Regions from separate parts of the Homo sapiens genome. Here all the other regions are linked to region 1. The links are contacts of gene promoters, found by promoter capture Hi-C in blood cells and fetal thymus (Javierre and others, 2016). All regions are on one chromosome and are shown on one strand. Each heading gives the region's core, a stretch centred on a gene start or on the middle of the fragment in contact. The rest is flanking DNA. Distances are from core to core; before and after follow the strand shown. Region 1 holds the start of OLIG1 (oligodendrocyte transcription factor 1). Region 2 has its middle 25 kb from the start of EPCIP. Region 3 has its middle 56 kb from the start of EPCIP. Region 4 holds the start of IL10RB (interleukin 10 receptor subunit beta).

Region 1 (2,914 bases), core at 163-2,662:
CTCTGGCGGAGGAGAAGGAAAAGAACCACCCCTCCGCCCCCGCCACTGCTCGAGCGCAGCCCCTAGTACTGGGAGCCGGCGTGCTCCGCTCCGGGGAGGTAGCGCTCGGGGATGGCCTCTCGCTGCACCCGGGGCGCGCCAACCACGGCAAGGCGCCCTAAGTTCTACATCGGCCCCGCGAAGCGCGCAACTCCAGGGACAAGGAGAGAGATGTGCTGGGTGAGAGCGAGCACTTTCTGCCTAAAGCCGCTGGAACCGACCCAGAACCCCAAACTGCCCCGAGGCGCCATCGAACATCCGCTCTGGTCACTTTAACGTCCCAGGGGTGGGGGCGGGGAAGGGGGTGCCCGACAGTCCCTTCCTCTGGACTGGAAGGTTCGAAATGCTTTCCTTGCTCGGCCTCGCTCTCCCAGACGCAGGGAGCAGGGGCGCGGAGAAGCTGAGCGAAGGGAGGCCGGGCCGAGGTCGCGCCCCAGGCCCAGGCCCGCCCTCACTTGGAGAATTGCGCCTGCACGGCGGCCAGGCCCAGGCTGGCCGGGACCAGGTGCGGGAACTTGCACACGGCGCAGGTGCAGAGGCCGGGGCCGCCTGCGCCGCCGCCGGGGAGAGCGAACTGGCCGCACGGCGGCTCGTCCAGCGCCAGCGACAGGTACTTGGCGGGGCGCAGCGCGTCGGGGGGTCCTACGGCGCCGGGCGCCAGCAGCACGGAGCCGGGCGCGGCGGCGAGCAGGGGCAGCCCGGCCAGCAGCAGGCGCGGCGCGGCGGGCCCGGCGCCCTCGCCCAGCGCGCGGCGCAGCTCCTGCAGCGAGCTGCCCAGCAGTAGGATGTAGTTGCGGGCGAGCAGCAGCGTGGCTATCTTGGAGAGCTTGCGGCCGGGCGCGCCCTGGCAGTGCGCCGCTGAGTAGGGCAGGATGACCTCGCGCAGGGCGTCCATGGCCAGGTTCAGGTCCTGCATGCGCTTCCGCTCGCGGCTGTTGATCTTGCGCCGCAGCTGCTGCTGCTGCTCCTCCTTGGCGTCCGGCCGGGCGCTGCCGCCCGGGTGCGCGCCTGACCCGGGCCCGGGGCCTGGAGGCTCGGCCGGCGCCTCCGGCTTCTCGCGCGCAGCCTTGGGGAGGAGGGGGGCCGTCGTGGAGGAGGAGGAAGTGGAGGAGGTGGAGGAGGTGGAGGAGGAGGAGGAGGAGGGCGGCTGCCTGTAGCCCACCAGCTCGTAGAGGGAGGCCCCGAGCTGCAAGTCTCCGGGCCGCTGTGGCCGCAGCATGGTCCCGGGGACCGCGTTCACGCGCGCCTGGGAAACCGCATAGTACATCTGGGAGGCGGTGGGGGCGGCCGAGGACGCCCTTCAGGAACGCCCTGGGGTGGGCCGGTCGGCAGGCCGCCCCTCCCCGCGGACCTGCGCGCGGGGAAACGATGGTGGGGCCCTGGCCCGCGCCCTACCCCTTTAAACCCGGCTTGGGAACCTGCGGGGCAGCGGGTGGCGGGGCGCAGCCAATGGAGGCGCGAGGCCGGGCGCAGCCGCGTGTTCATTGGCTGCTTGTGCCGGGGCCGCGCGGAGGTGCGGCTGGCACCGCTTTAGGAGGTTATTGTGAGCGCCTGTGCCAGCCGCGCGGGACAGGCCCCCTGAGCGGAGTAAGGGCGCCTTTTCAAGGCAAGCGGGGCTGTTGAAGGAGGACTGGTCGCACTGGTCAGGCTGCAACTCACGTGCCTTCCTCCAGCAACTGTCTACTCAAAAACAACCTCCCTCATATTTTTTTTTAACTGTGATCACATATTCATAACATAAAATTTACCGTCTTATGTTTAGAGTACTGTTCAGTAATGTTATATGCATTAGTGTGCACATTAAATTGATTTAAATTAAATTCACATTGTTGTGCAACCCATCTCCAGAACTCTTTTCAACTTGCAACCCTGAAGCTCCACCCATTAAACAACTCCCCACTCCCCCCGACCCAAGTTCCTGGAATTCACTCTTCTGTTCTGTCTCTATGAATTTGTTCTACTCTAGGTCCCTCATATAAGTAGAATCATACAGCACTTGTCTTTTAGTGACTGGCTTCTTTCACTTAGCATATTGTCGTCAAGGTTTATCCATGTTGTAGCATGTATCAAAGTTTCTTCCTTTTCAAGGCTGAATAATATTCCAGTATATGGATATACCACATTTGGTTTATCCATTCATTCGTTGATGGACATTTGGGGTGCTTTTGGTTGTTGCGAATTATGCTGCTATGAACATGAGTGTATCATGTTTTTTTTTTCTTAAAATACATAATTTCCTGCCAGGTTCAGGTCGCTAAATTTCTGGACTAAATGACAAGTAGCATTAGGATATTTCCTCCCTGCTGCTCCCAACCTCCTTCCCCATCCCTCTGATTGAAAGGTCTTTAGGGACAAAGGAGCCTTTGGGTCGGGTTTCTATCCTCCCCGAAAGGGATGGTCTATCAGCAACTTGACATTTGCTTAAGCAAAAGTCACTCAGAAATTGGCCTCTTATTAGAAACAAAACAAAACACCCACATAGTCCTATCGGTTGAGGGTGGGAATGAATCATTTTATTTGCCAAATAGAATAGCATTACTTGGTGTCTATGGACATTTTCTGCCCCCAGCACCAGTGCATGCTACTATAACTTGTCAATGTCCTGGGGAAGAGGGCATCTTGGTGGCTGTGCTTGCTGGTTTCAGGGCTGCTTTGTTCTGGTTTTCTTCCACCAATATTTGCCACATGGGTTCACTCTGATCTTTGCTTCTGACCCCCAGCTCTGCCTGTAGCATCCTGCCTATGCCTCAGGTTCAGCTCCAACCTTGCTTTCTTCTGGAAGCCTTGGTGATTTCTCCTCTTCCTCCTTTCATGACTCTTGGCAAACCATTGATAGGATTTCTTCATAGCCTATTGTGTTATGTAGATACCATCT
Region 2 (2,914 bases), core at 215-2,714, 230 kb after region 1:
ATAAACCAAATGTGGAAGAATCCTGGAGTTATGGTGAACAACCATCCTAGTTTTCTCTGACTCTCCCAGTTTTAGTACTGAAAGTCCCTGTTCAGGGAAACCCCTGAGTCTGAGGCAAATCAAGACAGTTGGCCACCCTGCATAGAGTCATAGAAGTGCATGGTTAAAAGAGACCCTGGAGCCTCATACAACTCCCTCATTTTTGGCCCAGAGAGGTCAAAGAGGCAGCACAGCAAAGAACTCAATGTCTTCTTAATAAATGATGAATAAATCTATTGTCTCGTCATGTGAGTAAAATCACCAGAGATTATTAAATGTAAACATGGTACGAGACAAGGACTGGCACCAGAGTGAGGTGATGTGGGATCTAATCCTGGCTCTGCCACTAAATGGGGACCTTGGGTAGGGGAGCTCTGACCTGCCAGGTACTATACACCGATTATTTCATTAATCTGAATTATACTCCTTTAAAGCAGGATTAATATGCCTGTTTAACAGATGGAAGAATGGGCTCAGAGAAATCAAGTAACTAGCCCAATATCATAGTAAGAGCTAAGATTCGAAGGTCAGTTACTCTGACACCAAAGCATATGTTGTTGCCAAAATAGCCCCTACACTGGTACAAAGCTGATGGCAAATCAGCTGCTTGTTGCTCCCATGAAGGACTCATCAGATGGGAACGGCAATTGGAAGAGATAATTTTTTTTCCATTTCTGCAATGCAATTAAGGATATAATAAAATCATCACAGAATGCCCAAATGATTGATAATTGAGAGACTAGTACCAAGTCTACTTCCAAGAAAGATTTAGATTAGCTAGTGCATGTATTTAACCTGAGCTCTCTTTTCTGTTTTTTAATAACAAACTCAGCATCTGATTGATTTTAAGCTTAAGTTCACCAGTTTCTCATATCCACCAAATCAGAAGATAAACTGTATGAGGATAAGAATTTTGTTCACTGCCATAACCCCGGGGCACTTATGCTTGCCATGTAGTAGGTTTGCAATCCATATCTGTTGGATGTAAGAATGAATGAACAAATGAAACAAATTCAAAATTCAACATAGGAATGTTAAGTAATCTTATTATGTATATATACATGTGATAATTTATTTAAAAGTTGATTGAGCACTCAATACAGGAGGTAGAAATAAGGGAAGTAAAGATTTATCTGCCATGCAAATATTAACCAAAAAATTATTGGATGGATAAACTATAAGGATCAAATTGATCTATATATTTTTAATTTTTATAGATTAGAGCTTTTTTAGACTAAAGGGGGTTAGTAGAAGGTTCCTGTGATGAAATAAAGAATCCTTTTAGCAAAATAATAATGATCATAAACTCATTTTTCTAAAACAGTTGAGGATTTGCTTCCAGTGAAGGACTCTTTTACGGTAACTTGAGTCTCACTTTCCTTTGTTTATGTGGTGACATACATGTAGGAAGCAAAAAGCTGAATGCTTTTCTCTTTTGTTTTTTTTTGAGACAGGGTCTCACTCTGTCACCCAGGCTGGAATGCAGTGGCACAATCATGGCTCACTGCAGCCTTGACCTGCCAGGGCTCAGGTTATCCTCCCATCTCAGCCCCCCAGGTAGCTGGGACTACAGGTGCGCCACCACACCTGGCTGATTTTCATATTTTTTCATAGAGGTGGGATTTTGCCATGTTGCCCAGGCTGGTCTTGAACTCAGCATATGTTATAAACATAATTTCTCTGATAGTAAGGATGATATATGTGGGCATTCAGTACTAGGGGTTTGGGGTTTATGGGTGAATGAAGTTTTATATCACTTACCATGCTCTATGCTCCTTAAACTAGCTAGTGCTTGAAAATGGTATTACCATACATATCTTCAAATATGTATATTTGACAGTGGAGAATAAAAAAGAATAAATCACATAGCTTTAAAAATGATGTCAAATACAGCTTCAGCCTTTAAAACACATTTTAGAGGAAAAAAATTAACTATTATATAGAGTTAATCAAAATAAAACAACTTCTTAGGTTTGATAGCAGATCAAAAGTAAGCTTAAAAGTAATATACAGTGTTTAACATTTATGTGTAAGTTTAGTGGTCTGAGAAATAACTTTCCAATTGTACGGCCACTCTGTATTAGACATGATATTAAGGTAATGATGGAATATGTTCTTTCTTTATGGATACAAGGGATCTATTACCATAAAGAATGAATTAAATCTGTTACTATATCAAGAAAAACAGTGCATAAAATACTAATGCTACAAGAAAATGTGTCTCAGCCGGGTTAACAGATGGGTGAAGTGTGAAGGCAGATAAACTCTGCTTCTTTTGGCTTAGTCTTTATATCTCCCTACAACTATAACTAATCCTCTTTATTTGAACAATTTCAAAGACTCTAATTTTACACACATGGCATGCATACAAGAGACACACTTTTAGTTCCTGCCAGCAGGTAATTAGAAGCAACAAAAAGGTATGTCTTGATGAAGAATTGCCTCACTGCCCAAGCCACCACTTCAGCTGATCCAACAGAAATTCATCCTGTTACAGACCACTGCTCAGAGGCAGAGAAGGTCTGGTTTGCAGAGGAAAAAAAAATCATCCAGCCAATCAGACTTGAAATTGATCAATTCATCCCATTATATTTATGTACAGAAAAAGCCTATTAATTTTTGTATAACTAACTTTATAACCAGGTACTTAGTCATATTATTTCTAACAGCTTTTCAATTGATTTATATGGATTTTAGAGATATATAATGATGTAATCTGCAAATAATTTTCCCCATATTTACAGCTTTTTTTCCTCTTATCTAATTGCACTGGCCAGTACTCCTAGAACAGTATTAAAAAAATAGTTTCCATGGTGACCAATATTGTCTTTAATAACGGAAAAAATGGTTTTAGCATTTTGCCATTTAGCATCAT
Region 3 (2,914 bases), core at 302-2,801, 200 kb after region 1:
GCCTATGAGTGAGTCAATCAAGGTACCTGCCCTCAGGGAGTTCACATACATTCTGCCAACTGAGCACCTACGGTGTGCTAAGCTCTCTTCTAAGCCCTGCACCTGCATTCATTCCTTCACTCCTCAGAGCAACCTTGTGAGGAAGGCGCTGTTATGAGCTCCACTGTACAGTTGACGAAAGAGGTTCAGAGAGATGAGGACACTGGCCCCAGAGGACACAGCTGGTAAGTGGTGCAGCTAGGACCAGCAGCTGCCTGGCTCTACAGCCTGAGGCCTTGGCTTCCCTGCAGGCAGGCAAGGCAATCTACACTCATCCCCCCACCTACCCCTGCCCCCCACACACACATTATTCTACTGGAAATGCTCCTGGGCCCTGGGGTACAGTGAGAAAGGAATCCTCAGACCAGCAGACAGGCAGCCATGTTTGGCTCTCGACAGGCGGGAGCTCTGAAGAAGAAGCCATTAGTGCAGCGAGACAGGGGTTCACAGAGAAAAGAAGTCTCGAGAGGAGACCGCAAGGATGGCGGCCAGAGGGGGAAGAGCAGAGTTGGGGCAGGGACACAAGAGTCCCATGGCCTAGTGTGGCTCTGAGACCAGGCCCTGGGGGGAAGGAAATTGGAGGCAGTGAGAGGGGTGATGAGGGTGGTTAGTGGAGAGGGAGGAAGTACAGGACATACTGTACCTAGCACAGTATCTGTCACCTGTTGTGGGGAGTGGAGAGGGAAAGAAGATGCTAAAAAGCCAAGGTGAAGACAGATTGTGAAAGACTTTCAATCCTTGTTAAAAGTTCAGACTTTTTGTTGTCAATGCAGAGTCAATAATGGTTAGAGTCATTAAAGGCATAGAAGTAATAAGTAGTACATGACCAAATCTATGTTTCTGTGTTAGATAGGTAGATAGTAGATAATAGAAACAGATAGATGATAGACAGATAGGTAGAGATGGCAGAGATACAGAAATGATAGATAGATAGTAGATATAGATAAATAGATCAATAGATAGTAGCTACAGATAGTTAGATAATGATAGATATCATAGATATGGTAGATAGGTAGACAGATAAGCATGATAAATAGAGATAGATGATAGAGATTGATATATAGTGTATCATTCCATTTCCACACTGCTACAAAGAAATACCTAAAACTGGATAATTTATAAAGGAAAGAGATTTAATTGACTCACAGTTCTGCATAGCTGGGGAGTCTTCAGGAAACTTACAATCATGGCGGAAGGAGAAGGAGAAGCAGGCAACCTTCTTCACAAGGAGGCAGGAAAGAGAGAGATCAGGAGGAACTGCCAAACACTTATGAAACCATTCACTCTCGTGAGAACTCACTCACTGTCATGAGAACAGCATGGGGGAAACTGCCCTCAAGATCCAATCACCTCCCACCAGGTCCTCCCTTGACACGTGGGGATTATGGGGATTACAATTTGAGATGAGATTTGGGAGGGGGACACACAGCCCAACTATATCAGATAGATGGATAGATAGATAGATAGATAGATAGATAGATAGATAGATAGAGCAATGATAGAGATTATAGAGATAGATATGATAGAGATAGCAATGATAGAGATCATAGAGACAGGTATGATAGATGGATAGATAGATAATAGATAGGTATGATAGACTGATGGAGGTAGAGGTGAAGGTACAGAGAGGTGGAGATGGGGATGGGGATGGAGATCGGGATGGGGAGAAGGGATAAGGATAGGGACATATATTTCCTGGTGGGGTGTAGAGGGATTTAAAGGCATAGAAGGCACTAGGAGTGGGCAGAGACCCAAATTATTTGTCACATTTCTCCTCCTCCCACTGTTCTGCAAATACCTTGGGGCAAAGTGTCCCTAGTACTCCTGGCTAACATTGCAGGCTGGTGACCAGTGGATGGAGGACATGCCGGAGGCAAGCCCTGGGCTGAAAGAACAGCCACTTCCCCTGATGGCTGCTCAACACCCGGACTTCAGATCCTCCGACCAGACCTGCTGAGCATGTAGTCGCTAATCTCTGCAACAAAGTTCCTCCCTGAAAATTAGGGGTTTTGTTTTTGTGTTTTGCCTTCTGCAGTCTTGTCCACGTTTGCCTCAATTTCCACCCCTCATTGTGACCACCTGTTGGGTCTAAATGTTATTAGGAGGGGACAAATCCCGCAGGTAGCTGCCACCTTGCCCACAATGGCAGTTGTTCAGAAAGCCAGGCTCCTGCTGCGAGGGGCCACGCCACCCTGGGAGGGAAATGACCAAGGTCAATGTTGGGGATGCAGCATCTGCAGTGAAGCATTTGCCCATTCTCCTCCTGTGGTCATTGTTACATTCCACTGACCAGCTGCCTGCAGGCTCCAGGCACAGCCGCCATTCATCAGAGATTAATGCCTGAAATGAGCCACACCTCTGAACAATTGCTTCCTATAAGAGGGACAGCACTGAATGGCCAGGGAGCCCCATTGATGACTGTTATAAAAGAGGTGAAGGCTTGCATGGAGGAAAGAAAAGTTTCACACCGCCCCTCAAACCTAGCTCGATTCTTCCTTCTCTCTCTTCTTTTCCCTTCTGACTGCCCATTTTGGCCACATTGCCTTAATTCAGAATCTTCTTTTATGTACAGGACTTGGGCAGCAAGCTGAAAATTTGTGAATTTGCTACTGTAAGTCATATTGCTGTGTGCTGATCGCATTAGTACTATTATCTGTGCAACTTTCCAACTTGACAATTAGTTACTATCATTCACGCTGTGCAATCAGCTGTTAAATCCTCGTTTATGCTAATTTGAATATGAATGTGCTGTTCAATAACATGTTAGATTGCCATGTTTACAAATATACTCCAGGTATTTAGAAATTTAGATGATGCAAAACATACTGTTTAAGTTGCGCTCAGTGCCAGTTTAAATAACTTAAGCCTATTTATC
Region 4 (2,914 bases), core at 161-2,660, 200 kb before region 1:
TGGGAGGCTGAGGAAGGTGAATCACCTGAGGTCAGGAGTTCGAGACCAGCCTGGCCAACATGGCGAAACCCCATCTCCAATAAAAATACAAAAATTAGCCAGGCGTAGTGGCACACACCTGTAATTCCAGCTACTCGGGAGGCTGAGGGAGGAAAATCGCTTGAACCCGGGAGGCGGAGGTGGCAGTGAGGCAAGATCAAGCCACTGCACTCCAGCCTGGGCCACAGCAACAGAGCAAAACCCTGTCTCAAAAAAAAACAAAAAAACAAAAAAACAAACAAACAAAAAAAAAAACGGAAGAAGAAAGAAAGAAAAGAAAATTTGAAACCTACATGCAAGTAGAAAAGTAGAAGACTATAATAAACCACCACCCATCACCCAACTGGTACCAAGAGAGATATAAATGTGCGAGTCATGGGCCTATAGCCCGTGTTTAATGCCAGGGTTTGGCTGAAATCCCCCAAAGGAACAGTGCCAGGGAAGGAGAGAAAAGGCCTTGGGCATCACAATTAGCTACATAGAAACCTGACAGAGCAGGAGGGTCCCAAGCAGAGACAGCCTGACAGGGCGGGAAACCGGAGGGGTATCCCGGAAGGCCAGGGAAGAGTTCATGAGAAAGGAAGGAGGTGACCATGGTGTTATTGGAACCTAGGCAGTCAATTTAGAGGACAGAAAAGGTTTCAATGGATTTAGGTTTAGAAGCCATGGAGCTGGGGCGCTGGGGGACAGAATCCAGATTTCAGGGTGCTCGGGCCTGAACCGGAAGGAGGGGAGGTGCAGCGGGTGATGGGAGGCACATCTGTAGGGAGGGCTGGCACTGAGGGGGCAGACTTGGGGTCAGGGAGGGCTGTCAGGGCACTCGGGGACTGGTGGGGGCCTCCACTTGAACTGATAGTCTCCAGAAGGGTCAGATGACAGCCACGGTGGGATCTTGGGTCTTTTGGGGAAGCTACTTTATTTAGACGCCCGCCAGCAGAGAGCTGCAGGAGGACAGGGAATCAAAAGACGCCGGGAGTCTCCCCCTGAGTTTAGGGCCCAGACGGTCTGTAATCCGGGCGCGGATGGGGCTTTCTCCTGTTACAGAATCGACGGCAGCAGCAGCCTAGTTGCGTCTCAGCAGCCGGCCGTGGCGTTTGCATCTTCTCTCCCGAGGCCCCGAAGGCTCTTAAGTCACTTGCAGGGCGCCCAGGGATGGGATCAGGGGCGGCATCTCGCGGGGCCTCCCGGTTCCCAAGCGCGCCCCCTCCCCGCGGACCCCTCACCTGACACCAGCAGGCAGCCACCCAGCCAGCTCCCAAGGCTCCACGCCATGGACGGACGCTGGGGGTTCCGCGGCTTCCTCCAAGCACACGACCCCCGCCCGCGCCCGGGAGAGCTTGTCCGCGGCGGCTTCCGGGAACCAGCGGAGATGGGCGGGGCGGGGTGGGGAGGGGCCGGGCGACCGGGCTCCCACCCCGCTGCAGGCCCCGCCCACCAGCCCGGGTCCACCCGCGAGGCGCGGGGCACAGGCTTGGCAGATGCACACGAGGAAGAGGAAGGGATCCTCGCAAGCTTTGAAAGGCGCCGTCAAGTCAAATAAATAAATGCCCTACAACACCAACCCAGGACTGAGATCTGCATGCTGGAATGACGGTGGTGGTGGTGGCTTTCAGTATTCCCCAGGTTTTGTCCGGAGCACCGGCACGCCCTCTCTTGAAGTCCGCTCTCCGCACAGGTGAGTTAAAAGCACTTCAGCAGCAAATCCAGTTTGAGGGTCTTCTTTACCCTTCTCCCCAGGGATAAACAACACAAAACCAAGTCATCTTTACGCAAATAACTAGTTTCTTTCAGAGACTACTAAGAAAGCGTTAATTTCCTCTTTTTAACTTGATTAGTGGTTAGACGGGAAGATCCGGAGCTGTCCAGTGTCTTGGGTAATGCACGGCATCGCCTGATGTCTGACGCTAGAACACCACGTAAAGTCAAGCAGAGGGAAGTGAATGCGCCCTAGGCCCCTGCAGGCCACCAAGAAGAGCTAGAGGGAGTTGGTGCAATCCTAGAGATGCCGGCAGGTGCACCAATCTGTGGCACACGTACGCTCTCCAATGGAAGACAACTCAAGACCACACCAAGTTTGTATTAAAAAAGTACTGTTGTGTTACTTTTTACCAACCTCCAATCATTATACAAAATGTTAAAAAATACACAAACACACACACACACTCACAGCCATAGAGGTTATCGCAAAAGATCAACCCAGAATCTTTCAGAATATGACAGATGCACTGAGAAGGCAGATAAATTGATTCAATATACAAAAGGCCTCTTTCCTATGGAATTTCATTAGATTAAATAAGGTGTTCCCTCCTCACAGCCTCATCCTTATGAGCAATCATATAAATAATCTATTTAAAGTCCTTGAACTATAACTTGTATAATTTTTAGTTTTCCCCCTTTGAAGGGGCCTAAGAGAAAGGTTTGAGAAACCAGCTCTTGAGGGGGGCAGGGGTGAGGGGTAAGAGGTCCTGTGCCTTTCATTCATCCTGGGAGCTTCTCAGGATTGCAGCATTTCCACCTGAGTGTTCATTCTTGTACATTTTCTCATCTTTCTCCTGGGTTCCTAGGATCTTGGAGATTACCTAGTCCAATCCTTTTACTTCAGAAACAAAAAACCTGAGGCTCAGAAAGGCTAAGTCAAATGCCTAGGGTCACACAGGGAAACTGTGGGAGTTGGATCCCTGAGTCCCAGTCCTTAAACTGGTTGCTACATGACATTCTAGAACCTCTCCCCACCAACTCCCTTTTTAAAGACAGGGTCTGGTTCTGTCACCCAGGCTGAAGTGCAGTGACATGATCTTGGCTCACTGCAACCTCCGCTTCCTGGGCTCAAGCCATTCTCCCACCTCAGCCTCCCAAGTAGCTGGGACAACAGGCA

The links. The method cuts DNA at HindIII sites, captures the fragments that hold promoters and counts their contacts. A CHiCAGO score of 5 or more calls a contact.
Region 2: a fragment that was not itself captured here is called in contact with the fragment with the promoter of OLIG1 in region 1 in 6 of 17 cell types (M1 macrophages, M0 macrophages, naive CD4 T cells and 3 more); the score reaches 8.0 in M1 macrophages.
Region 3: a fragment that was not itself captured here is called in contact with the fragment with the promoter of OLIG1 in region 1 in 1 of 17 cell types (naive CD4 T cells); the score reaches 5.4 in naive CD4 T cells.
Region 4: the fragment with the promoter of IL10RB here is called in contact with the fragment with the promoter of OLIG1 in region 1 in 5 of 17 cell types (neutrophils, non-activated CD4 T cells, erythroblasts and 2 more); the score reaches 9.0 in neutrophils.

What each region holds. Positions count from the first base shown.
Region 1 is chr21:33,068,639-33,071,552 of GRCh38, reverse strand. It overlaps OLIG1 (oligodendrocyte transcription factor 1), which reads right to left and starts at 1,412. Exons shown (of 1, transcript NM_138983.3): 1 at 1-1,412. The coding sequence starts at 1,306. The coding sequence ends at 491. The HindIII fragment of the contact is 4,947 bases long and covers 1-2,914 here.
Region 2 is chr21:32,836,873-32,839,786 of GRCh38, reverse strand. No RefSeq gene overlaps it. Among named protein-coding and RNA genes, the nearest start is that of EPCIP, 25 kb to the right of the region's middle. The HindIII fragment of the contact is 1,145 bases long and covers 892-2,036 here.
Region 3 is chr21:32,868,264-32,871,177 of GRCh38, reverse strand. No RefSeq gene overlaps it. Among named protein-coding and RNA genes, the nearest start is that of EPCIP, 56 kb to the right of the region's middle. The HindIII fragment of the contact is 4,133 bases long and covers 1-2,914 here.
Region 4 is chr21:33,264,863-33,267,776 of GRCh38, reverse strand. IL10RB (interleukin 10 receptor subunit beta) reads right to left here and starts at 1,410. Exons shown (of 7, transcript NM_000628.5): 1 at 1,263-1,410. The coding sequence starts at 1,311. The region is part of intron 7 of IFNAR2-IL10RB (IFNAR2-IL10RB readthrough); the gene reads right to left. IFNAR2 (interferon alpha and beta receptor subunit 2) reads right to left here. Exons shown (of 9, transcript NM_001289125.3): 9 at 2,113-2,914. IL10RB-DT (IL10RB divergent transcript) reads left to right here and starts at 1,517. Exons shown (of 2, transcript NR_038974.1): 1 at 1,517-1,714; 2 at 1,875-2,145. RefSeq lists a silencer at 1,155-1,564 and enhancers at 1,735-1,804, 1,835-1,894. The HindIII fragment of the contact is 8,663 bases long and covers 1-1,553 here.